7 separate regions of the Homo sapiens genome follow, and all the other regions are linked to region 4. The links are contacts of gene promoters, found by promoter capture Hi-C in blood cells and fetal thymus (Javierre and others, 2016). All regions are on one chromosome and are shown on one strand. Each heading gives the region's core, a stretch centred on a gene start or on the middle of the fragment in contact. The rest is flanking DNA. Distances are from core to core; before and after follow the strand shown. Region 1 holds the start of LINC00114 (long intergenic non-protein coding RNA 114). Region 2 holds the start of LOC101928398 (a long non-coding RNA gene). Region 3 overlaps ETS2 (ETS proto-oncogene 2, transcription factor). Region 4 holds the start of PSMG1 (proteasome assembly chaperone 1). Region 5 has its middle 61 kb from the start of LINC00114. Region 6 overlaps LINC00114 (long intergenic non-protein coding RNA 114). Region 7 has its middle 87 kb from the start of LINC00114.

Evidence for each region. Contacts are between HindIII fragments. The CHiCAGO score rates a contact against its expected background, and 5 or more counts as called.
Region 1: a contact is called between a fragment that was not itself captured here and the fragment with the promoter of PSMG1 in region 4, in 9 of 17 cell types (total CD8 T cells, total CD4 T cells, naive CD8 T cells and 6 more). The highest score is 14.3, in total CD8 T cells.
Region 2: a fragment that was not itself captured here is called in contact with the fragment with the promoter of PSMG1 in region 4 in 1 of 17 cell types (total B cells); the score reaches 6.2 in total B cells.
Region 3: a contact is called between a fragment that was not itself captured here and the fragment with the promoter of PSMG1 in region 4, in 5 of 17 cell types (total CD8 T cells, neutrophils, activated CD4 T cells and 2 more). The highest score is 9.7, in total CD8 T cells.
Region 5: a contact is called between a fragment that was not itself captured here and the fragment with the promoter of PSMG1 in region 4, in 2 of 17 cell types (M0 macrophages and total CD4 T cells). The highest score is 5.6, in M0 macrophages.
Region 6: a contact is called between a fragment that was not itself captured here and the fragment with the promoter of PSMG1 in region 4, in 9 of 17 cell types (naive CD8 T cells, total CD8 T cells, non-activated CD4 T cells and 6 more). The highest score is 15.3, in naive CD8 T cells.
Region 7: a fragment that was not itself captured here is called in contact with the fragment with the promoter of PSMG1 in region 4 in 1 of 17 cell types (M0 macrophages); the score reaches 6.0 in M0 macrophages.

Annotation. Positions count from the first base shown.
Region 1 is chr21:38,770,953-38,774,706 of GRCh38, reverse strand. It overlaps LINC00114 (long intergenic non-protein coding RNA 114), which reads left to right and starts at 1,230. Exons shown (of 7, transcript NR_027065.2): 1 at 1,230-1,258. The HindIII fragment of the contact is 4,008 bases long and covers 117-3,754 here.
Region 2 is chr21:38,856,419-38,860,182 of GRCh38, reverse strand. LOC101928398 (a long non-coding RNA gene) reads right to left here and starts at 2,644. Exons shown (of 3, transcript NR_109926.1): 1 at 2,558-2,644; 2 at 2,228-2,407; 3 at 1,321-2,106. The HindIII fragment of the contact is 9,082 bases long and covers 1-3,764 here.
Region 3 is chr21:38,820,295-38,823,905 of GRCh38, reverse strand. It overlaps ETS2 (ETS proto-oncogene 2, transcription factor), which reads right to left. Exons shown (of 10, transcript NM_005239.6): 9 at 2,202-2,320; 10 at 1-1,232. The coding sequence ends at 1,017. Among named protein-coding and RNA genes, the nearest start is that of ETS2, 16 kb to the right of the region's middle. RefSeq lists an enhancer at 968-1,505. The HindIII fragment of the contact is 3,317 bases long and covers 1-3,148 here.
Region 4 is chr21:39,182,094-39,185,885 of GRCh38, reverse strand. PSMG1 (proteasome assembly chaperone 1) reads left to right here and starts at 2,435. Exons shown (of 7, transcript NM_003720.4): 1 at 2,435-2,634. The coding sequence starts at 2,501. It overlaps BRWD1 (bromodomain and WD repeat domain containing 1), which reads left to right. Exons shown (of 41, transcript NM_033656.4): 41 at 1-404. RefSeq lists silencers at 2,260-2,479, 2,680-2,759. The HindIII fragment of the contact is 4,125 bases long and covers 623-3,792 here.
Region 5 is chr21:38,710,484-38,713,969 of GRCh38, reverse strand. No RefSeq gene overlaps it. Among named protein-coding and RNA genes, the nearest start is that of LINC00114, 61 kb to the left of the region's middle. The HindIII fragment of the contact is 610 bases long and covers 1,218-1,827 here.
Region 6 is chr21:38,750,914-38,754,718 of GRCh38, reverse strand. The region is part of intron 1 of LINC00114 (long intergenic non-protein coding RNA 114); the gene reads left to right. Among named protein-coding and RNA genes, the nearest start is that of LINC00114, 21 kb to the left of the region's middle. The HindIII fragment of the contact is 4,817 bases long and covers 1-3,805 here.
Region 7 is chr21:38,685,168-38,688,591 of GRCh38, reverse strand. No RefSeq gene overlaps it. Among named protein-coding and RNA genes, the nearest start is that of LINC00114, 87 kb to the left of the region's middle. The HindIII fragment of the contact is 2,641 bases long and covers 1-2,600 here.

The sequences.
Region 1 (3,754 bases), core at 871-3,370, 410 kb after region 4:
GGCCTGGGGCGGGGAGTGGCCTGCCAGCCTGTGTTATCTTCTAGCATTGGCACCCCCAATTTAGTCCGAGGAACCCTCCAAAGCAGCTACAGTTTCCTTCCCTTCCTGGGAAAGCTTGGCCCAAAGGCCAGGAAGGTCTTTGCCTCGGCTTCTCAGAAGGAAGGGAAGACCTGCTTTGGGCATATGGGGTAGAATTTTCTACCATGTAAAGGGTGGTATGGTCAAAATGTGAACTTGCCTTATGTCACTAATTCCTGCGAAACTTTAAATTCTTCATTGCATCCCTCACATTCAACGAGGGAATTTGTCAAAATGCTTTCTGGCAAAGTGCCTGACACAAACAATGTGAATTTCTCTGTGTAGAAATGACCCTTTCTGCCTGGTGCTAGCTTTCCTGATAAGCTCACTGGGAATGTTCCTCCTGCCGAAATGCAGATTTGTTGATCATCTTTTGGATTTCAGATCCTTGCTCTGGGAGAACGAGATGCAGGCCCGTTCCTACTGAGGACCATTGTCCCATAGCCCACTCTTGCTCCAGAGTCCTGCTGGCTTCTAGTTTCTTCTCCCATGGACCCCCAAATTCCGGGGACTTATTTCCTAATGCCTCCCACTTAGTATTCCCTGAAATAATATTCTGAGGAGTTCTGAATAGGGGAGTCTTCAAATAAATCAGCAAGTGCCGTGAGAATGCATGAGTAAGGGAAGGCGTCATGACCCAGGCCTCTCGAGCAACACTAGGGAGGCAAGCGGACGCCATCCTGCATGTGTGCAGCTCACACCTGCCACCCACGGCACAACACACCTTTCCACAGGGAAACACAGTGTTCTCTCTTCCACCCCTCATTGTCATAGCCCAGTGAAGATTCACCTATTGGGAAAGAAATGAAAACCAACATGTCTTTGAACTTAATTGTTTTCTTAACATTTGGGGCTGGGACATCTGTCTTTGCTTAAAAACACATCTATTTATATCAACAACCGTTTACATTGAGTCCTTGGAGACTGACTTAAGCAGATGTTGCCTGATGTGGGTTTTCGTACTTAGAAAAAATGTGGAATTCATTTCTACCCCACTCCCTCCTCAATAAAGTTAAATTGCAGAAATTTGCAAACCTTAGATTTCAGTGTACACAAAATACATCCTCCTAGCTTTTCATAACATGTGACTCATGTTATTGTGATGAAGGGACTAATGAATCATTTTCGTACTACGAGGGCTGGAAGACGGCAGTCCTGAGGGAGCCGACTTGCTTAGAAGGTTGGTAATGCGATTACTCATTCAATGGAGACCAGTGTAAAAGCTGAGTGTTGTACATACAGCTATGTTTATACAACCACTGCCTTGGCTTGGAGGAAGGGGCAAGGGCAAATTGGAAGTGGGTGGGAAAGACTGGAGGTGGCTTTCTGAGGCAAAGCGATGCCCAGGAATCAGACATGGGCGTGAACCAGAGGAGGAGAGACTGAGGGTGAAACCACGCTCCATCTGCATCTCGAAGTCACTTAGGCAATGACATTCATGCAGAAGGCAGACTCTGGCCACGTGGTGAGAAGAGCTCTGCTGGATTCAGGAGGAAAGCCTTCCTGCTCTCAGGGGCCCCAGGCAGGTCTGCACCACCTTTGAGGGAAGTTCCATTTCTGTCTGTTTGATTCTTCTTCTTCTTCTTGCCTTCTCTTCTTATTATCTTCCTTCTCTCTTCATCCCATTCCTCAGTGGCACACAGGCACTTTAATCCTATCTGACAGATGTTTATCCTGTGTTTGTGCCCAAAGAGAGTTCACATTGATGCAATATAATTTGTGAAACCATTTCTTCCTTATTCTGTGAAATGACACATGTAAGTTTGTATATACATAGACCTCTGTCTTCAAAGAGTAATTTTTACTGAAAAGTGAATTTACTTAAAATGGGGAACATGATTTCACAGAACCAACAAGGGCAGTGTGACAGCTGAAACTTTGTCTTGAAAAATAAAACTTAAAGTAAGAAAAGAAGTAATTTGGGATTATAATTATTATTTTGAGACAGAGTCTCACTGTGTTGCCCAGGCTGGAGTGCAGTGGCACGATCTTGGCTCACTGCAACCTCTGCTTCCTGGGTTCAAGCGATTCTCCTGCCTTAGCCTCCCAAGTAGCTGGGAATACAGGTGTGTGCCACCACACCAGGCTAATTTTTGTATTTTTAGTAGAGACCAGGCTTCTCCATGTTGCCCAGGCTGGTCTCGAACTCCTGACCTCAAGTGATCTGCCTGCCTCAGCCTCCCAAAGTGCTGGGATTACAGGAATGAGCCATAGCACCCAGCCAATTTGGGATTTTATTAATGAATTTTAGATTATTACAGTAACATCAGCTTTCACTGCACACTGAACAATCATGGTAGTTCCTCCATCACTTTCTTTAACTTCAGGGAACCTTATATCATAGGCAAGATTTGGAGTTTCATGTTGTCATCAGTTTGCACTGTATTTGCAGTGTTTTCAATTTTCATTTGTTACTAAGACTGGCATAGACATTGACCCAATAGACTACCATTAAGGCTGATGGTAGATGTGAAGGGGGTTTGAGTGTCAACTATTTCTCTACATGGTCAGTTCATTAGGGGATATTTAAAAATTATGGTTACTTTGACTTTGCTATCCACTGCTATCATAATGTTCTCATTTCAGTACAAATGCTCAGATAAAAAAGACACTCTCTCCCTTTGACACCTACTGGTGTTTATTATGAGTAAGATGTTTTGTCTCCATTAATTAATTTAAACCTTACAATGATTCAATAATTTAAGTATGACTGTCTAGTTTTATGGATGCAGGGAATTAGAAGCTCAGAGAGGTGGTGTAACATGTCTGGAGTCACAGAGTGAATAATGGAGGAGCTGAGATGTATAATCAGGTGTGTCTGATTCCAAAGTCTGTGGCTCCAGACAGTGAAGATACAATAAATACCTAACTCTTCAAGGCCCAGACACCAAAGAATATCTACAAGATCAACACTACCCAGGAAAACATGACCTCACTAAATGAATTAAATAAGGCATCAGTGACCAATCCTGGAGAAAGAGATATGTGACCTTTGAGACAGAGAATTCAAAATAGCTGTGTTGAGAAAACTCAAAGCAATTCAAGATAACACAGAAGGAATTCAGAATCCTATCAGATAAATTTAACCAAAGTCTGTGGCTCTAGCCTCTCTACACATTTCATCCAAGTCAACTGGGCTGGGTGGCCAAACACCTAAAGGTCACATCTGTCCATGGACAGCAATCAGCTCTTGATTTTCTGAGCCTCCCAAATTCTGACCTTGACTGCAAGGACCCCCTTTCAATTCAATTGACAATTAAGGCCAATGAGTGAGACCTGGTGAAGACCACACCTGAAATGAGACATAATTTCAATTCTATCCACTGCTAATTCTCTATCACTGTCACAGTACATCTTAATCTGCCCATTGAAGCATCCGAAACATAACCCTACAGGGAAAAATTTGCTAAAAATAATAGAGACCCTACCCTGGAAACGACTGTCTCTATTGGTCATTTGTCTTATGCCGCTGGATTTGAATGGGTCAATATCTGCTCTGACAGACGGCACTACAAGCACATCATGGCAACAACAGTTTTCAAATGAACTCCCTGACAATATTTCACTGGATCTGTGTGATCAACCAATGGATAACGTATTCTGTAGCACAGCACTGAGGACAGCTTGTGTTTGCTTTTATGTGTCCTGTGAGAGGCCGTTGGGAAAATTTCAAATC
Region 2 (3,764 bases), core at 1,219-3,718, 330 kb after region 4:
TTCGTATCTCATCAGCATAGGCATCACCTGGGAGCAAAGCAAGGCTCAGGCCCCTGCCTGATGAATCAGAATCTGCTTACTAACAAGCTCTCCAAGTGATTCATCTGCCCCTTCAATTTTGAAAAGCACTGGAGATAGCTCCTACTCATCCTTCAGTGTTCAGCTCAGGAGCCGCCTCCTCCAGAGAGCCCGCCCTGATCTTCCTACCCACCACAGCCGGCTGCTGGGACAATTAAAGAGCGAGGCACAGCCCCAGCATGTACACCCACCACATTCATGAGCACTTATAGCTCATGAGTCTTTCTTATTTAATGGTGGTGCACTCTGGTGGAATAAACTTAAAATTCCTCTTGGAATCTCCAAACGAGGGGCATCATATAGCCTCAATGCAGGCTGTAAACGCATCATACCTGAGAACCCCCACCCTTCACTGGAGCCCCACCTGTACCCGCCCCTACCGTCCTTGTTGTGGGAGTAGTGCAGGAACCAAATGCAAGTTCAAGAGAGACATGCGGCACACCACACTCTATGCTAGGGAAAAGCAGGCTTTCCCTGGGGTAATTAATACACTACAGCCTTTCTGACTTTTTGTCAGGGGCTCTCCTGCAGAGATTTTACTAAGGCTTTCTTAAAGTAGTGACAAACATCACAGGGTTATAAGAAAGCACCCAAGGGTGTCTTTCATTCCTCCTCTCTGATCCTCACAACCATCCAAACACAGCCCGATCTGTCCTTGATTCATCTTGTGATGACCACCCCAACAGCAGACCCCTGTGACACCCCTCGCTGAAATCCTGCCTCTCCCCCAATTCTTATTCCGTTCTCTCCACAACCAAAAAGGTCAAGGTGGCATACACATTCCTCCATGCCCCCTTCCCTGCAACCCCACCTCTCGAGGGGTAAGACCCTTCCCTGGGTGATCACACTGCACTGGATGTCACATCTGTGCACAGGGCTCTGCACACTCCCCACAACCCCACTTTACTTTGCTTCCCCTGGACCCAGAGGCAGAGTTCTCCTGGTCTTATCCTACCTGTACCTTCTACCTGCAATATTCTGCCCCTGACCCTCCTAGGGTCCTCCTTCTTACTTTTAGATCTCAGGTTAAATGTTGCCTCCTGGGTGCTCTCCCATAGCCCCTGTTCTCCCATCACTGGATTGGAAATGTCTGCAGAGCACATATTCCCATCACTTGCTTGTCTTTTATTACCTGACCTTGCCCATCACTAAAATGTAAGTTCTAGTGGTCTGCAGGCCTCATCGGGTTGGCATTTTTCATCTCTGTATCCCAAGCCCCTAGAACAGTGCAGAAGACATGATAGACACTCCATGGATATTTATTAAATAAATGGATGTGAGTGAATGCAATAAAACAAGCACTTTCAGTCAAATAAACCCAAGAGTGCTGGTCATTCTCCAAATTTGTTTTCTGCCTGCTCTGTGCCATGGAGGCCAACTCCTCTGGCTTGCACTTCGCAGGCCCTCTTTCAGGCAGCTGCCTGTGCACCTGCAGTCAATGAGAGGATGGGAGCAAAAAGTGGGGGCAGTTTTCCCTGGTCCCTTGACAGGGCCTCACTGGGCTCAGATGACATCACTTCCTCTCTCCTCCCTTGAAACCTGGGGGTGGGAAACCTTGGCATCTGGGAGGCTTCCCATCATTTGTCTGAGCTCTCATCCCTGCCCACAGCTCAGGAAACTTCCTTTGTCAAAGTCTCTTCATCTGCACCATTTAGCATGAACTGTTCCTTGTGGGGGCAATGCTCCTTCTGCGTGCATACAATTTAGATATCTTTTCTGTATATACAGAATGTATGCACATAACTTTAAAAAAATTTACTTAATTTTTAAGGGGGTGGTTTCTTCATTTTCTGCTTTCCTCTTTAGCTCTGCTTCCAAGTTCCCCTCATCACTGCGGTCCCTAGTGAAATCTTCCAACTGCATGGTGTCCAGCACATTTTCAGCCAGAGATTTTAGTTGGCTCGTGGTATCTTTCATGACCTGTTTTTTTTGTGCATTCAAAGGTTTCCAGCCTTTCTTTCTCCTCCTTCCTTTCCTGTACTCTCTGCTCCCATCTCGCGATCTCTTGGTCGAGCACTTCCGGACTTTCTGCAAAATAGGTGTTTTCATTCAAACTGTGTTATTTCCTTCTGAAGTTTTCCTCCATCCTCCTTTCATCCTTTTAAGATGTGTCCTGCATCAATCACTTGGGAACGCTTAGGAGACTCACTTTTCCATGTTTTTTTTTCCAGAAAGCCTCCTGTGTCCTGCAGAGAAGACCTGCTCAGATTTTTATTAAGGGTCGATAAGCAGAGGGATTGTAACATTCAAGGTCTGGCCTCCATCAGGGGTGACTTGAGGGCTTCCTCAGCCTGTCTCTTTAGTCCAGTGTTCCACCTTCTCCATGGACCTGCTGGTGAGAACAACACTTTTACTAAGCTCTTTTCCTCTTTATAAAGTGTCATCTCTTAATGACTAAGACCACCACAGCAACACAAACCAGGACCTCCCAGGGATGCCCAGGGACCCCCGGGGCTCATCTCATGATCTCAGCCATCACCAGCACAGCAGCCCGCAGCAGCTTCAGAGCGGCTGGAGAGACATTTGGGGACGAGCAGCCCCTCTGTGGCTCTGCCTCTGTTTGCCAGTGGCCTGTGGACCACAACTGCCTACTCGGGACCCTGCGGAGTGTTCTGTATCTAATGCAAACAGGTGCCTGGCAACCAGGACAGATAATCAGTTGGGCTGGGGGAGGGGAGCAAGCCAGATTCTAAAAACAGTGTCCCTGACATTGCTGTGCTTACTGCACAGATAGAGGTGATATTATATTCCCTGCCCAGGTCATGAGGGAACTGGGAGTGGCTGACAGCACTCTGGAGCTCAGCCACACCAGGCCCAGCTGGCCCCACAGCAAACCCAGAGGGTCGAAGTGAGGCTACGCCCTGTCCCTTTCTGTCCACAAGGGCCTGTCAGGGCACAGTGGTGGGGCCTGTCCCTGGGTGAGGCTCAGTCTCCTGATTTCAAGTTTCCTTCTGCACAGGGAAAGTGGGTCCTGCCCACCAAGGTCCGAGGGACCCTCCTCTGAAGCCCCTCTCTCCTTTGTGTTTGGTCAAGGTTAGCAGATGGGGAGAGGACTGAAGAGTCTCCCCAAAGGTCTAAACTGAGAGACCTGGATTTTCAATGTAACAATCCAGGAGAAATAAGTAGATGGAGTCTAAAATTTCTGGTGGAGTCTACAATTTCATGGATTTTCTATGAAGCTGGTTTGTCCCTGTTCAGCAAGTGTCCTGAGTGAGGGTGACTCTGCTTTGGGTATGACAGGTTGACCCAAGCTCCTTCCCTCATGCCTCCCAAGGTGGCCCTGGGAACAGTCTCCAATCCACTGAGCCGTCTTCAGAAGTGCATGTCTACTACAAGGGGATGGGGCCTTCTTTCGGCTCATATTTGCCACCTTTTGCTTATTAAGCTACTTCTCTCTCCTAGAATCCCTCTGGCAGACCGAGACTCACAGCCTCTTGTTCATCCTCTGGGACTTTGCCATGAGCAACTCGCTCATGGTCCCTTTACCCAGAATGAAATTAGAGAACTGTCCGCCAAGGCCAGCCCTGGGGTCTTGAGAGATTGCCTAGCTCAGGCAGTAGGGGCCCCATGGATGTAGAGGACCAAGGCTCCGACTGGCCAGGTGGTGAGGGCCGGGGTGGAGGTCTAGGTCAGCCAACGCCTGAAGCGATAGTTGTGATAATTTCCTTCTTTCCTTCCTTCCTTCT
Region 3 (3,611 bases), core at 241-2,740, 360 kb after region 4:
GAGAGAGGTGAGCTGTCGGAGAAACACAGTTAAACTAAAAAATAAAATCCATTTTGTGTATAAACTGACTTAAACGCATGCAAAGAAGTGGAAAACATATGCCATTTGTCAAGAAAAATACTGCTTTATAGCTTTTACTTTACAATTAAAGGAGAAAGCAGAGGCCAGATATAAGCCCAGATAATAACATTTAAGTTTCTCATAAAAACTCCCAAATGTACAAAGTCCTTGCCAGACAACCAAGGCAAGAAAACCCCCCAAAAACAAACAAACAAACAAACAAAAAAACACAAAAAGCAGGGATTACCCCCCACAGGCCTTATCCCTGTAAGTCTATTAAATGTAAATAATACATACTTTACAACTTCTCTTAGTCGGCCCTTGGCAGATTAAATCTTTGCAAAATTCCATATGTGCTATTGAAAAATGAAATAAAACCTCAGATGTCTGAATTCTTATTTCAAATACAGTTATATAATTATTTTAAATTACAATATACAATTTCTGTTAAATACAACTGTTAAGGGATTCTGAGAACAATTATAAGATTATAATAATATATACAAACTAACTTCTGAAATGACATGGTTGTTTCCTTCCCACCCTCCTACCCTCTCAAAGAGTTTTTGCATTTGCTGTTCCTGGTTGCAAAAGGCAAAAGAAAATCTAAAAATAGTCTGTGTGTGTCCACGACATGCTCGCTCCTTTGAGAATCTCAAACAGCCAGAACCATCCCGTCCCACGGACTGCCAGGCGCCAGGACGGCTTCCTGGTGCCTCTTTCTCGACCATTTTCACTTAAAAGCACTGTGAGTAGAATTAGCTGTGCCGTTGCTGCCACAAGGGAGGCAGCCTGGTCAAGAGGCGTGGTTTGGGATGCAATAAGGCCACTGCTTCTTGGCCACTTTCCTGGACATTTTCAATCCTGCCTTTCCTGGGTCCTCGGAGCAGCTGGTCAGGATGGGCTTCCCACTCAGTCCACGAGCCTGGGGCCGGCTCAGGGTGGTCCCGGCGACCTCAGTCCTCCGTGTCGGGCTGGACGCCCAGGATGGCGTGCAGTTCCTCGGGCGTGAACCCCAGCAAGTTCTGGAGGTCGCACACGAAGCGGTACACGTAGCGCTTCCCCGACGTCTTGTGGATGATGTTCTTGTCGTAATAGTAGCGTAAGCCCCGGCTCAGCTTCTCGTAGTTCATCTTGGGCTTATTTTTCCTCTTTCCCCACCGGCGGGCCACCTTTGGTGAACATGGATGGAAAAGAGTTAAACTCAATTTGTCAATGAAGAAAAAGTGAATGACATTCCTCCCTGATTATGATTCTGAGGCATGTTCACTCTAGAGAGAACTTGACACCTACACAAGGTCCGCAGGAGGACCTTTTGAGTACCTCTGAGTACCTTTGAGTACCTATGGTAGGGGCACTGTGTCCCCAAGGGGCAGAACCACTGGGGAATGAGGTCCCTGCTCCCTGGCCCCAGCTCAGTGAAACCTCCTGGGAGCCAAGGGTTCAGAGCCAGGAGGGTCCTGAGACCAGGGAAAGGTGGTGTCACCCACCCTCCAGGCTGGATATTCCAACTACTGAAGTTAACAGGTGCCGAGTGGGATTCTGAGCTGTGTGATATACTCATTCCTCAATGCTTGTCTCCCAAGGGAACTGGAGGCGGGGTGGGAATGGTGACAGATTACGCTCCCCAGTGCCAGAGACCAAGGGCTTCTCTCTAACGCTTTTCTGGCGGGGTTGGTATCCCACCTGCCCTTGGCCTTCTCCTTTAGACAGGGCTCCTGGTTCTAACTCTGCAGGGCTGGGGTCAACACTGCTGGGCTCAGCTAAGGAGTGGACAGAAGGCTGGCTCGGGGCCACATGAGGCTTGTTCCCCCGATGGACAAGGGCAGCCTTCCTAAGGCATTTTCAGATGGTCAGCAGAGAACCTCAGTTTGCAGCTTGGGCCTCTTGATCAGACAACTGATCAAGACAGTGAAATCTGTGCAACGCCCTTGTATGAAGCATACCCAGAAAACACTGTACACGTTTATCAACAAAGCAATGACTCCACTTCCATTTTCCCAACAGCCAAGGATGCCTCACGTGGAAAGATTCTCAGCAGTACTGGTGAACCCTTTTTTGTGCCCAAAGAACTGAGTTTTTGAATGCAAGCAGGAAATCAGGTTTTCAAGCCCAGAGATTTCCCAGGGCTCTGGCCATACCTCATCGGGGTCGGCGAGCTTAAACTCCCATCCGTCTCCAGTCCAGCTGATGAATGACTGGCAGGATTTGTCTGATAGCAGCTCCAGGAGAAACTGCCACAGCTGAATAGGTCCACTTCCTGCGGGGAGAGGGAGGGAGACGGATCATACCCTTTCACAGATGTAAAATACAGCAAGTCTTTAACCATCCTAATTGTACATGCTGATTTAGGAATGCAGACCCAACTCTCTGAATGGGGTTCCGATGTTACACTCAGGGTGGCACTCAAGGTGTTGGTGACAGTACTAAGTGCTTTAACGGGATGGGGCGGGGCACCAAATGTGAGTTCCTGCTCCACACTGCCTACTCCTAGAAAATAAGGTCACTAGGCGAGACACTCTTCCCCTTGATTGCTAGGTTTGTTCTTTCTGGAAGAAAGTTTAGGGCCACCAACTCTTGGCATTAAAATTCCCCATCTGGTTTAATTGTTCCTTATGTAAAAACCTTCAAGGTTTTTTTCTAGAAACACCCAGTGGGGCAGAGATGGGGGTGGCTGAGGGGGTGTTTCATCACAGAATGAGGCGTGTCATACGTGGGATCCCATGCCACCTTCCTGCCAAATGACCATGTGTAAATTGCTTAATGTGAGCCCGGTTTACTCAATAGCCACGCGGGGTCACACCCGTTGCCTCACAGCCTCTGTCTGGTGAAGCATGCTTTGCCAAGAGCTTCTCGTCCACCTGTCCTCGATTGACATTTAGAACTACCACCTTGCAAAGCAGGTGTCAGTGTGGTTCTGTTCTAAAGAGGAGGGATAAGATGCGGCTCAGAGGCCAGGTGCCTTGTCCTGGATCACACGCCCATCACAGCAAACAGGAGAAGAGCCTAGATCTTCCGACCCTAAGCCCAACCTCTTTCTACCAAATAGCTCTTCCTCAGAAACGCAATGGCCGTTATCAATAAAGCTTTGCTGTAAAGCACGGGACAGGCATTCTAGAACCAGAGCTGTGTGAGCACCGATAGCTGTCTGCCTGTGAGCCAATTTCCCCATCTGTAAAATGGCCTCATACCACCCCCATGCCAGGCTGTCCTACAGACTGTATGCCTACTTAACTACAGAGTTGGCAGTCAATAAACAGAAACTTATGTTACTATTAAAATGAACCACACTAACGTTATGGCTGTTTATTCTTCTCAGGCCCTAAACTCCCAATAATGAAACCGATAATGGCTTTCACACACTCTTTCCGTGTATTTTAATACGTTTACGTGGCTGATTGTTCTTAGATGACAGAAAAAGAATGAATGCCTCAGTATCCTTATTTTAAACTTATCAGATTTTTTTAAGTTAGGTAATTTCAATCCACAGTGGCTCCATATGGTTAAAAAAACAAAAACAAAAACGCATTTAAGGATACACGAAGCAGTGA
Region 4 (3,792 bases), core at 1,186-3,685:
TCGCATCTTTTTAACATAGTAACGTGTTACTGGAAAAATTAAGTTGTTGAAAGTAAGTTGTTTTCCCATTTAAAAATATCTGAATATATGATTTGCATGTGTAAATCTGAAAAACTAAACTACAGAAACCTAGGGTTTTCTATTTCTTTTTTAAGTCAAATGCATTTTTTTTTTTTTGTTATACAGATGAACCAAGTGTCTAAAATACTTGAGAAATTTGTGGTTGCATGTCTGTTTTAAAAAAAAGGCTTTTTGTTTTTTAGCATAAGCCAGAATATTCTAACCTACTAAGTCTGTGTCCTTTGCTCCTTTTGTAGTATACTTTCATCTAAATTACTGATCCCCAATATGTTGATACACAGGTGAGAAAGGGAAGAATTCCTAATAAACTGCTATTACTTTTAGGTGCATGGGGTTTGATTTTTGAGCTCTAATGAAATGCTTAAACTTCTTTCCAGTTCAAATTTTACACTTAATTTATAATATTTATTGAGTATATTATGTCCTCAACAAGTAACTATAAAATGAAATACTTAACTCGGTGAAGACTATTTTATGCAAAGTTTTTTTTTTTTTTTTTTTTTTTTTTTAGCAATTTCAGTGTAATGAAAGAATTTAAGCTTTGAATTTATAATTTGCTGTGGTGGGGTTAATTTCTGTCAGTATTTGAGATTGTATTATCAGTCTTGCATAATGAAATCCTTTTTTGGCTAAGTATTTAATTCGAACATATTTGCCTTTTTAAAAAGTGCTTGGCCTAAACTTATTGTAACTGCATGAAATAAGCATTTGCTTAAAACTTAACATTGTAAAATTGTTCTCTCTGAAATGTGTGCAGAATTTAAATCATGGCCAAATGTATTACTATTACCCTATTTACAGTAATTTGCTTTGCAGAAAATATTTCTTCATCATGGAACTGTGAAATCAAATTGAAGATCTTACTGGTAAAAATGACAAATTAACAAAAGGACTAAGACAAGTGGTGCCCAAACAACCTTTTTATTCTGCAGTTCCATCATCATAATAGACCAGTTAACCCAGGAGTCCTAATGTTTTAAAACATCATTGTGGTGATCTTGTTTATTCTATCTCACTAAGGATATCCAGTTTCCTAAGCTCTTACTGGCTAGCAATTTCGTCTTAATTTTATTGCTAAATGTTCAAATTTTGCTTCCAAACTCACTTTATTTTTGCAGATGTGTACATCTGCTAAGTACTAATTTTATGTAAATGATTTTGTTGATTATCTTTCCACATCTTAAAATGTTTCTAACAGCTTTGAGATTTTATCTCAACAGGCTCTCTCTGACCCCAAAGTAGTACTTACCTTCGTGACTACTGACAAAGTCACAAAATGCAGGCGATGTCATGTATTTCGGTACAACTAAATCTAGGAAACGGTTTTTTCATTGCATTACTGCATATTTTCATTTTCATTTAAATTATGTCCCCTTTTTCTCTTGCTTGAAACAGTGCTCCTCGAACTTTGTCTTCCAGCACATTTTAAAGAGAACCAATTAAAGAACAATCACACATTCTGCTTATTAAAGGCTATTTAAAAAGAAACATTTTGTATTAGAAAATGGCCAACTTTAAAACACTATTTTTTACACTCATAAAAATGTTTTTTAAATCGCCTTGACAATCATCAGCTTTTGAAATGTGAATTCCTATTGCCAGAGTAAAGGTCTCGTTTTTATACCACCACGAAGCGCTGTATTTCTTGCTGCCCTTGCGTCCGCCCGTGCCCGCTGTCTGAGGGCGCGCCTGGCTACGGGGGCCCTCAGTACCACCGCGCCGCCACCTACCTGGGCAGTCGAAATTTGGAGCGGGTGCTCAGTACACTAATGCTACCCCAGTCTCTCCTAACGCAGAAGGAAAATGGAAACGGACGATGAGGGGACGGCCCCACAGCTCCCGGACGCCACGGCCAGCGGCGCTGGCTCCGCCCCTGCACCCCTGGTTCCGCTACCGCCACGAACGGAGGCCCCGCCCTCCTCTCGCCCCCTGCCCCTCTAGCCCGCAGTCCTCCCACCTCCTGGCGCCCGCAGGGCTCAAGCTGCGAATGAAAGCCTTTGGGGGCCGGACGCGGTGGCTGAGGCCTGTAATCCAAGCACTTTGGGAGGTCTAAGGAGGACGATCGCTAGAGTCCTGGAGTTCGAGACCAGTCTGGGCAACATAGCGAGACCCCCTCCCCCAATCTGTAATTTAAAAACAAAAAAGCTGCGGGGACTGCTGGCCCAGGGCATGACAGCGCGGGCGGGCGGTGTAGAGGGCGTGGCCGCGAGCTCAGGGTGTGCCTGGGAGCGAGCCCTGTGCGGGGCGGGACGTAGCGCCCGCGCGGTGGGGGTGTGGCCGCGAGCTTGGGCTGTGCGCGGAGGGCGTGGCCTGTGCGGGGCGGGACTTATTGCCCGCGCGGTGAGGGAGCGTGGTCTCGCGCAAGCCGGCGTGCGGTCCCGCGGCGCTGCAGTTGTGTCCAGCCGGTCACGGGGCGGCTATGGCGGCCACGTTCTTCGGAGAGGTGGTGAAGGCGCCGTGCCGAGCTGGGACTGAGGACGAAGAGGAGGAGGAGGAGGGGCGGAGGGAGACGCCCGAGGACAGGGAGGTGCGTCTGCAGCTGGCGCGGAAGAGGTGAGGCACCGGGATAAGGGCAGCGCGCTCACCGCAGCTGGAAGGTGCGCGGGCCTGGCAGCCGCGACGGCGCCTAAGGCCGGGGCTCCGCGGTCTTCCGAGTGGCCCCCGCGGTTGCCGCCGCTCCTTGGCTCTGCTTGGGCCCTGGGTCTCCGTGAAGCCGCGGCGTCCAGCGGCGCCAGCCCCAGGTGTGTGTGGTTCTCGCGTGGATCTGCTGGCGTTTCGTGGAGTCCAGGGTGAAGCCGCTGTGGGAGGGCTGGGTTCAAATCCGTTCTTTAAAGGCTTTCTGGAGCGTTTCTGGAGCATTTCTGGAGGCTTGGTGTCTTGCGGACTCGTGATCTTCCCGCTTGTCACACTGTCTTGGGCCGCAGCGCTCCCGCGGGCCCCACCACGTTTGTCGTGGATTGTTCACGGACACACCAATTCCCTCGAAACTTTTTAAACCTGCACCCAACACTTCAATTAGCATGATGTGTCAGTAGCCGATGAACACGCTTTAAAAAAATTGTTTCCAAACACAAAAAAGTGGGAGAAAATAGTCAAGTGAGCCCTGACCCCTACACAACCGGGTAAATTCAACAGGAAGATTTTGCCACGTTTATTTTCTCTCCCGCCACTCCTAAGCGAATTCCAGTCATCATGGCCTTTCACCTCTACATTTTTCAGAATACATCTCAAACGTTTTAGGGATTTTCTTACATATGCTATTATCACCCCTAACAACACTAATACTAATTTTCCAGTATCATTTTGTAGTCCATGCTCACTCACGTTTACCTAGTTTTTTCAAACATGACATTTTACAGTGGTCTGCGTGAATGAGAATCCTAACAGGGTCCACAGGTTACATTTAGACGTGTCACTTCATTTAGAGCAACCTCCTCTTACCCCTCCTAAGAGACAGGACTGATTGTCTTGTCCAGTGCCCCCACACTCTGAATTTGTCTGATAGCTTCGTTGTGGTGTCACTTAACGTTTGTATCACCTGCATGTCCTGTAAAATGAATGTTCATTTGGAGGCTTGGTCAGATTCTCATTCAAAGTTTTGTCGGCAAGAATGCTTCTACTAAGTGGTGCTTTCTGTTTCTTATTGCAGGCTATCCCCAGCTGTCTCACTTTTAGGGATGCTAAGATTGGTTCTTGGGTCAGGTGGACAGC
Region 5 (3,486 bases), core at 273-2,772, 470 kb after region 4:
TTATCTTTGTGTTAGTAGAATATTGAACACGTGAATGCACCATAGTATCGTTTTGTATTTACTCATTTCAAGGCCAATTCTAGTCCAATGCAGGGAGACAGAACACAGCCAAATTACATTGTTTAATGTAACATACCAATTAAAACTTGGGGGAGAGGCTCGGGGATCTCAGCCTCTTTGGGTTTGGGGGTTTTAGTCTCTAAAATTAGAAAGTTGCTCAGGGAATCACTAAAGTCATTTTCAGCTTTAGCCCTTTAGAATTCTGGAATGGGTCCCTGTTTGTATGATTCTCAGTATCTTCTGCCTTGGATGATGGCAGTGAGTGAATCAGCAAGAGCATGTCCAACAAATAGTCTCAAGGTGGCTCCTGGAGAGACAATGGAAACGGAACAACACCGTGCATAACTAGCACAGTGGCAGAGGGTGGACACTCCCACCTGTGTTCAATTGTTGCACATCAATCTGCATCTTTTTTGGTCACCCCTGAGAAGTAAATCACTGGTGGGTTTGAAATATAGATACTTTATCATGATAAATCCTCTTCCACATCTATAATTCATAAATATTGAAGAAGTGGGTGAAGGAATAAAGAATTTGGAAAGTGTAATGCTTTTATGAAGCAGACTTTGTTGAGTTTATTTAAAGATTATGCATATTTTGTTGGGTTTTTGTGCTGTTAAACTCTTCAGGGAAGAAAGTTTGAACGGTTAATTAAGAAATACCTGTCAGAATTCTATGGTACAATGGAGGAACCATTCAGAAATCAAGAGTGGTTCTTCTAGATGAGTTAAAATTGCAGGGACCAGGGAGTCGGTCATGTGTCTGGATTTTGGAACTTCTTTAAGGAGCCATGAGATATGAATGCGCCCCCCCCCCGCCCCCCCCTCCCCCCACCAAATAACTCAGAGTATGGATTACCGAAGACAAGGCCAAGGGCAGTCTCTACAGATACAAATTATTTGTCCTTGGAGGAGATGGGGGAAAGTAAACTGACCCACTAAAACTAGGGGCTTCTATAGCAAGGAGAAGGTACTTCATATCCCTGAACAGATGTGCTGCTGAGGGCGGGTGGCTGTGCCCTCCCAGCCCCAGGAGCTTTATCTCCGCCTTTAGAGCTTTTGTCTGGGAGAGATATGAAGGGAGTTCAAAGGACCCTAGAAAGGACAGCCTCATATTAGGAAACAGGGCTGACAACTAGGCAGGACAGGGGACAAGCTTAGTCAGTACCTAGGGGTTTGCATTCATTTTACTGCTTGCAGTAAAACAATTTGAAAGCAGATGATACATTCAATGTATCAATACATAGGCTTCTTGGTGGTGATGCTGTATATATTTGCAGCAGACACCATCAGCTGCCCATCCAATGTACATGTCGTCCCCTTTCTATCTAACAAAACCCTCATATGGTTTGTGGCCTCAACATGCCTAGTTAAAGAAAAATAACTCACCCAGGCAACTCTGCTGTTTCCAAAAGCCATACGACATAACAGGGCATTCAAAAGAAGCTGTAAATCGCAGGAAAGGGAGGCCCTCCAGAATAAAAAGGAATTGCTTTTCTGCCTTTGTTCTAGTTATCTTTTTCTTTCTCTTTCCTGCTGGATGGTGAGCCTGAGGACTGTGGTGCAGCAGCACCTTGTGACCTTAAGGCAAAAGCACAGACAAGCACCTCTTGCTAAGGATGAAAAGCTGGAAACAGCCAGATGGCACCAGAGAGTCTGTCCTGCCTGAGCTGAGTTCACCCTGTGTCTATAAGCCACTGTTGGCTTTCCTGTTCCTTGCAGCCAGAGGCAATCCAAATTGATTCAATGTGCTTCTGTCAAGAAAGCTTAAGGTTGAATTTCTAAAAGCAGCATTATTGAAAGAAACTTATCTATCTTCTCTAAGACAGATTTTGCAAACTCAAGTGTTTTTAATGTCATGACATGTAACGCCAGGGTTTAGTAAACCTTTTCTGCAAAGGGCCAGATAATAAATGTTTTTGGCTTTGTAAGCCAAACACAGTCTGTAGCAACTGCACAACTCTGGTGTTGTAGTATGAAACGGCCACAGACAATACATTCATTAATATATTCTTCTTTGTGTTTTGGGAGATATGCCACACCTTTTCTCACTCTCCAAAGCATTGCAGGACGGTTGAATGCTAACTCAAAGCTGAAACACTTTTGACATTTTATTTGAGAAAAAAATAGAAATATTTCCCCTTTTGATCTTTACTTTTAAAGCCCCTTCAATTATTTTCTAACAATATTCTTTTAAAAATGTGGTCCCATCTTTCCGATTAGAGTAATATACAGGCATTGCAGGAAAAAATGGAAAAATCTATTTATTCTACTACACAGAAATTCACTTACTGACACACAAGACATACACATTAAAACAACAGAAGCTCAAATCCATTGAAATGAATATCTCACTAGACTCCACCAGCTTTGGGGCTGGTTTAGTGGTTGTTATAGGAGTTTCGCAGGAGCAGCTGATATAAAAACAGACAGAAATACAGGGATACTGGAGGACACTTTTGTGATGCCCTTCTTCACCTTCCTCTGAGATTGGACTGCTTATCAGAGCTGTTTTCTGGAGGAAGTACTCAGAATACAATGCAGGTTGATTACTTCTGCCACAGCATAATGTCTAGCAGGCATAGCAAAGTCAACCCATTTTCTTACCAAAGAAGGGATCTCTTGATATAATTATTACTACATCTTTTAATTTACTTTTATTCTGATGTTTTCAAAGAAATGCATGCTCATTATACAGAATTTAGAAACATACAAATACCAAGTAGTAAAAAAATAATAATGATATTTTCTCTCTATTCCTGAGCCAACTCATTATACATTGGCATATTTCCTTCCACTTTTATTTCTGGACATTTTCCCCCCTATACATTGTTGATTTTTTTTATTTTTTTTCCTGAAAAATCGTATTTCAAACATTTTCCTGCTATTTAGATCTCTCGATAATCATGTTTGAAGAAGGATATAGAACCCCATCAGAGTGACCCCTTCCCTCATGTTGGACATTTAGGCCTTTGATATTTTATTGCTATAAATAGCTGGCCAGGCACGGTGTCGCATGCCTGTAATCCCAGCACTATAGGAGGCCGAGGCGGGTGGATCACCTGAGGTCAGGAGTTCAAGACCAGCCTGGCCAACATGGTGAAACCCTGTCTCTACTAAAAAATACAAAAATTAACCAGGCATGGTGGCGGGTGCCTGCAATCCCAGCTACTCGGGAGGCTGAGGCAGGAAATTACCTGAACCCGGGAGGGAGAGGTTCCAGTGAGCTGAGATCACACCATTGCACTCCAGCCTGGGCTACAAGAGTGCAACTCCGTCTCAAAAACAAAACAAAACAAAATAAAACAAAACAGCGTTGCCCACAGATTATTTTCTCAGGACAGATGACGAGAATGAAATTACCAAATCAGAATATACGAAAAATGGTAAAGTCAAATTTTTTTCCATAAAAGTTGCTTATTTAAAA
Region 6 (3,805 bases), core at 1,036-3,535, 430 kb after region 4:
GTGGAGTTGGGGGTGGAGACATCCCCTCCTCAAGAAAGTTGAGAATGACCCTGCACTCCACAGAGCTTCTCAAGGCACAAGTGGTGCAGGAAGAACATTTTATAAAAGTGAACATTCATTCATGATATTTTCGACCTCCACAAGTCCTAGATGGCGGGAGGGAGGCATCTATGGGGAAATTACTTTGTTAATGAAAGGCAATAAAGAAAGTCATCACCAATGACTTTTTTTTAAGAGACAGCATCTCGCTCTGTCACCCAGGATGGAGTGCAATCCTATGATCATAGCTCACTGCAGCCTTGAACTCCTGGAATCAAGGGATCCTCCCGCCTCAGCCTCCTGAGTAGGCAGGACCACAGGTATGTGCCACCACCCCTGGCTAACTTTTAAATATTTTTGTAGAGATAGGGTCTTACTTTGTTGCCCCCTAGGCTGGTCTCCGATTCTTGGCCTCAAGTGATCCTCCTGCCTCTGAAAGTGATTGGATTATAGCGTGAGCCACTGCACTGGGCAGAGCTTCTTTCTCTTGAATGAACCAGGACCATATTCATAGTTTGAAAAGATTGTGATATGCATTTAATAAAAAAGGGGCAGTTTATGGAATAATATTATCAAAATGCTTTTAGAGTATAGAAGGATCTCAAAAACATGGTCTTGGACGTCGTTTAATGATTACTGATTTTGGAGATGACATGTTCTGAAAAGTTCTAAATGTAAGACTTTATAAAAAACCTACTTAACAAAATGTCAACACTTGAAATCTTTGATTCCCTTGCCCAAGGAACTCTGACGGTTTCCCATGATAATGATTATACGGGTGACACCCAACTTGGCAATTTGCTCATAGCAGCCTAGAAGAGGAACTGCCTGCCAGTGAAATATTATCAAAGAAATGGATACATGTTAATTTTGTTTAAGAACGATTGAGTAGGGATCATCTTGGCTTTCAGCTAGAGATTTCTCCCAGCCAGAATTTTCTCCAATTACATAATAAATAATGGAGGCCTCATACTTTAGATTATTTCCACATTCATTTTACAAGCTATAGCTTGTCTTCTAAACGTAAAGCACATTCAGTTATAAACTGAAGCCCAGGGAACAGAATGTTCCCTGGACTTGGAAACACTATGTACTTTGCCTTCTTCTTCTTTTTTAATATTTTAGAGCTTGTTTAAACAAATTTAGCCCTGTCTTTAATTAATCCTAAAGACAAGAAAATGATAAACTATGCATTGCATTAAAGAGATAGAGAGAGAGAGAGAGAGAAACTTCACATTTTTAGCAAAATCAACTTGGCTTTTTCTTTTGAAGTTTTCCGAAATTGTCCATTGTGTGCCAGAGAGGCACAGGCACAGATTGGTCATGCAGTCCCTATTTCCAGAAAAGGCAACGTGAGCTGTCTGCCTGGTTGTGGGCCACCTGGCCTGTCCTCTGCACTGTCCATTCATTTCCTCTGCTCTCCCTCACTGCCCTCACTGCAGCCCCTCTGCCAATGACACCTGGCCATCTGCTTTTTCGAAAACAAAGGAAATGCATTTCTCCCACAGATACAAACAGCAGAATTGCCTTGGGAATTAGTGGCCCACTGTAGGTTGAGTATTGGGTGTGGTTTTCCATTTTGCCTCCCCATGGGGGCCTCCGAGAAAGCGTACCCACCCCTGGCGGGCGGTGGGTTCTAGTCCAGGGCTGATTTCTAGTCAGCTGTGTCCTGGGGAATCAGGTGGGACGCTGGGATGACAGCAGGAATGCAGAGGAGACCATCCTGGGAGGAAAGGGTGTCGCCACGTGTAGAGCGCTTCTCCCTGCAGGCCCTTGTGTGCACAGGGTCTGTCTGCTTCTCTCATGGGACCGTCACAAGGACATGGATTTGTGTGCCATCCCCACTTTAGATAGGAGGCCACCAAGGCTCCTGGGGGGAAAAGTGGCTTCATGAGTGGTAAGGGAGGAACAGGATCCTGCGGAGACTATACCTGAGAGATATCTGGAACCTGCACTCCTAGCCACTAATACCCCAGGTCGCTTATGTGTGTGATGTAAGTGGTGCTGGATGGAGACCTCTCTCCTCTCCCATCCCACCGGCCATGAGAAAGGCCCATCCCAGTGCCCAGCCGCAGAAGGTGTGGAATATGCAAGTTTCTGCTCTCCCTGCCTTCCCCTAAACATCACTCCTTTTGCTCACTGGGGTCTGAAGTGGCCCCACACAAGGACAGCTTTTCCCTTCAGAAAGGAGAGGAGGCAAAAATGCAAACAACTTGGCAACCAGGTTGTTCATATCCAACGTCGTGGCTTTCATCCCAAGAATCGTTCTCAAAGATGAGAACTGGATGGAGAGGCGCTATTCCGCTAAGGTGGAGGAACAGGGCTCGGAACAGAGAGAAACCACACAGCCCAAGGGCAGTGTCATCTCCTGCCACGCACAGCCTTCCTCCATCCAATCCATGCAGACTGACGCCTACCCTGAGCTCAGCCAGACCCCGGGAGGGAAGCTGCCCTTCAAAGTGCTCATGTCCAGGTGGGAACTGGAGCAACACAGCCCTCTCTGCAGAGCTTATGTGGGCTGAGGGGAGATTCTCGGGTGGATGCCTCCCTGTTTACATGAGGCAAAATATTAACCCTGGCTGTCAGGAGCAATGGGAGGGAGAAGAGAGAAGCCGGTGGCTTTGACTTGCGACTGTGGCAGGTGAAAATTCACCCCATCTAGCTTGCCAGGCCATGGGTGTGGACCAGGTCAGGTCTCCATCAGGGCCTCATAGATACTCCGTGCAGTTTTCTTGGACTTTTCGCCTCCAGAGCTGTGAGGAAATCGGTGTCTGTGGTTGAAGGCCCCCGTCCGTGGTGTTTGTTTTGGCCGCCCCAGGGAACTCACACATTGTTCCTCATTTAGCTGCGGCCACACTGGCTTCTCTGCTGTTCCTCAGATATCCTGGCTCACGTCTGTCTCAAGGCCCTGGCCCTGGCTGTTCCCTCTGCCTGGAGTGCTCTCCCCAGCCCGCTCCTTGCTAACGGCCTTGCTTGCTTCAGCTCTTGAGTCTGTTCCCACGCTGCTGTAAGGAACTACCTGAGACTGGGTAATTTGTGGAGAAAAGGGATTTCATTGACTCGCAGTTCTGCAGGCTGTACGGGAAGCATGACTGGGAGGCGTCAGGAAACTTACAACCATGGCGGAAGGAGAAGGGGAAGCAAGGGCCTTCTTCACACGGTGGCAGGAGAGAGAGGGAGCAACGAGAGAAGCGCCACACGCACTCTTTTTTTTTTTTTTGACAGAGTCTCGCTCTGTTGCGAGGCTGGAGCGCAGTGGCGCGATCTCAGCTCACTGCAATCTCCGCCTCCCCGGTTCAAGCGAGTCTCCTGCTTCAGCCTCCCGAGTAGCTGGGATTACAGGTGCACGCCAACACACCCAGCTATATTTGTATTTTTAGTAGAGACGGGGTTTCACCATGTTGGCCAGGATGGTCTCCATCTCCTGACATCGTGATCCACCTGCCTCGGCCTCCCAAAGTGCTGGGATTATAGGTGTGAGCCACCACGCCCGGCCGGGAAGCGCAACACACTCTTAAAGCATCAGATCTCATGAGAACTCACTCACTATCACAAGAACAGCCGGGGGAAATCTGCCCCCATGATCCAATCTCCTCCCACCAGGCCCCTCTTCCAGTTCCACATGAGATTTGGGCAGGGACACAAATCCAAGCTGTCACTCATATACCCCGCGTCAGTGATGCCTTCCCGTGTCCCAATCCGTTTCTCCAGCTCACTTCTTTCCTCAGCTCTCATCACCCTGAGCACGTTACATCTCCATCTCCTG
Region 7 (3,424 bases), core at 31-2,530, 500 kb after region 4:
TTTCAAGCAGTCTTTTGTGCTGGGGCACAGTATTCCTAAGACAGTTAGTTCATTAGATAGAATCATGAAACTGCCATGTTTGTAGGTTAAAAATGGTTAAATAGCAGCCATTTCATATGGCTCAACCTAAACATTGGTTCCTGTAATTGTATTCATCCATTCATCAAGTATTTGTTCAACACATATCATATGCTGAATACTGTGCGGGGCTGTGAGGACACAACAGGGAACACAAAACAGCCGTTGCCCTCCAGGAGTCTAACAGGGAGCAGCTGTACAAACGCAATTACATTGGAGTGTGCAAAAATAGCGCTGCGATATGGCATGACAGCTCATGGTGGGGCCACTTAAGCCAACAGTGGGGGATGGTTAGGGGAAACCCTGGCAGAGTGAGTGGGAGTTGGCCAACTGAAATGGGGGACAAGAGTTGTAAGAATAACACTCCAACCTGGAATGTTCCAACACCTGGGAAGGTAGAAAGAATCAGAACCTACTTGGCTATGGTAGAAACAGAGAGCAAAGATGGGGGCATTGGGGGACTCTAGAACTGGGAAGATGAGCGGGGCTTCCACACCAAGCTATGTTTTTGGAAATTACTCTCAGGGCAACAGGGAGGAGGGTTTTAAACCTAAGAGTGGTTAATGGTTAATGCCACTCCATGTATAATTTGAGGGATGAAAAAAGGGGCAAGGGGGAGGACCACCATGATGAAGCCTTGGGTTTACTCTTCCTTTGTTCTGCAGATGGTTTGTTTGTTCTACAGGAAGGGGGTTGCTGATATGGTGTGGCTGTGTCCCCACCCAAATCTCATCTTGGATTGTAGCTCCCATAATCCCCATGTGTCATGGGAGGGACCCGGTGGGAGGTAATTGAATCATGGAGGCAGGTTTTCCTGTGCTGTTCTCATGATAGTGAAGAAGTCTCATGAGATCTGATGGTTTTATAAAGAGCAGTTCCCCAGCACACACTCTCTTGCCTGCTGCCATGTAAGACATGACTTTGCTCCTACTTCACCTTCCACCATGATTGTGAGGCCTCCCCAGCCATGTGGAATTGTGAGTCCATTAAACCTCTTTCCTTTATAAATTACCCAGTCCTGGATACGTCCTTATAGCAGTGTGAGAACGGACTAACACAGTTGCTTTCTTCATTTTTGGTATGAAAACAGAAACAAAATTGGAGAAAATCTGATTATGTTCACCAGACAATTCAAGAAGAGAGTCGTTTTAGGGCCATGGCAGGTGAAAAAGGCAGAATGGACCCAGCACTTCAAGTGGACTAGCCCATTGCCTGTGCAGAGGCTGAAACTCTAGACCAGCCAGGGTGGCAGGAGGAAGGACCTCAGATGAGCAGTGCTGCCTCTTAGAGAAGTCATTGTCTTGGGCTTGGAAGGCACACAAAAGTACTGAGACACAGGCCAGCACCCACAGGGCAGAGTCCTTTTTAACTACTTAAAGGAGCCATAGGAGCACATACTTTTACGAGAAATGCAAATGGGAAACAACTATATATAGATGCAGCACACACCTTATTTTGGAAAGTTATTCCAATCTTTTGGAGGCAAAAGAGACCAGAACATAGGCAGAGAGCCCTGTTTAAACACAGCCTCAGCATTGCTTTCATTTATAATTTAATATTTAAATCCAAATCTCTAAAGCACATAAATTTATCTAATCTTGCACAGTGTTTTGGCTATGACCCCAGCCCCCTGTTATTTTTCCAAGCTGGTCTAAATTTTCCAGGTTGTTGGAAATGCTGGTGATTCTGTGGCCTTCAAGAACATCTTACATTAAAGCCAGTCACACTGAGTTACGGTTTTTCCATCAACTAAACCTTTTACCAAATTGCCCATGGCTGAAACTATTTTCTGATAGATAAATATTTTCAAAGTTCCACTGTCAAGCCCAGTTTAGAAATGTCAAATTTGTCATGACTCTACCCACCAGTGTCTTTTCCTCTACTTTTGCCACTTTTCATTTTCAGAGCAAGAAATCTGGGGAGGAAAAGTGGAGATCCACCGATTAAAATGATATTAAAGGAGAAAGAAACAATGACCTCTTTGATAATTTACAATTATCCAAAAAATAAATACCCTTTTTTTTTCAAGGGACAGGGTCTCTCCCCTTGTTGCCTAGGCTGGACTGCAGTGGTGCAATCATAGTTCACTGCAGCCTCAAACTCCTGGGCTCAAATGATCCTCCCGCCTCAGCCTCCCAAGTAGTAAGGACTACAGACACACACCACAATGCCTGGCTAATTTTAAAATATTCTGTAGAGATGAGGTCTTGCTATGTTGGTCTCACACTCCTGGCCTCAAGCGATCCTCCTGCCTCAGCCTCTGAAAGTTCTGGGATTACAAGTGTGAGTCGTAGTACCTGGCCTCGGAGAATAAATATCTTGATACTTTTTCATTTTACAATCATCCTCACTTTTCTGTTCAAATCCAGCTCAGGTACTTGTGGCTGTTATGACATGCCATGAACAACACACAGAAGCAAGAGGTATTGTTTAAATTCTGCAGATAAGGGAGGAGTACTCTGAAGAGTTTGAGGATATTACTTTTCTGAAAATTGAAAGATATTCATCTGTTTGGAAAAGCTTAAAGAAGGAACGGGAAAAGGGAGCTGCTACAGGCCAGATTATGTCAAAACCAAGGTAGCTGGGGACAGTGGCAAACGTGTGTAATCCTAACTACTCAGGAGGCTGAGGTGGGAGGATCACTTGAAGCCAGGAATTTGAGACCAACCTGGGCAATGTAGTGAGACCCCATCTCTAAAAAGAATGTGAAGTTGTGCACAAATGAAAACCAACTTGTTCTTATGGTGGGAAGTGCCACATTCTATTTTCTTCTGTCTTTCCATTTTATTTGTCTGACTTCTCCCTGAGCATGGTGGCTCCTTGCTCACCACTGTTATCCCTGCCTCTGGGAGCACACCTGGCCTTCGGTCACTCCAGTGGATAAGTATTAAGTCAAGGAACAATCGCGTGAATGAATGAATAGTGAAAGTGATCCAGGAGGGTGCTTTTGTCACATATCTGTTATGGACTTGGGGAGCCACACCCCAAGTTCTCATCCTAGGCAGTTTAGTACTCTGGTAGCAATAATGTTGAATACTATTAAGTTTTTTGGTTAGTCTAAGGAAGTCAGGAGTGAGCATGGGGGCTGCATTCAACAGCCAAAGTTCACGTTTCTCCAAAATTCTTATGCTGAAGCCCTAACCCTTAGCGTGGTGGTACTTGGAGATGGGGCCTCTAAGGAAGTTATTAAGGTTATTTATTTATTTATTTATTTATTTATTTATTTTGAGATGGAGTCTCATTCTGTCCCCCAGGCTGGAGTGCAGTGGCACGATCTTGGCTCACTGAAACCTCTGCCTCTCAGGTTCAAGTGATTCTTGTTCCTTAGCCTCCTGAGTAGCTGGGG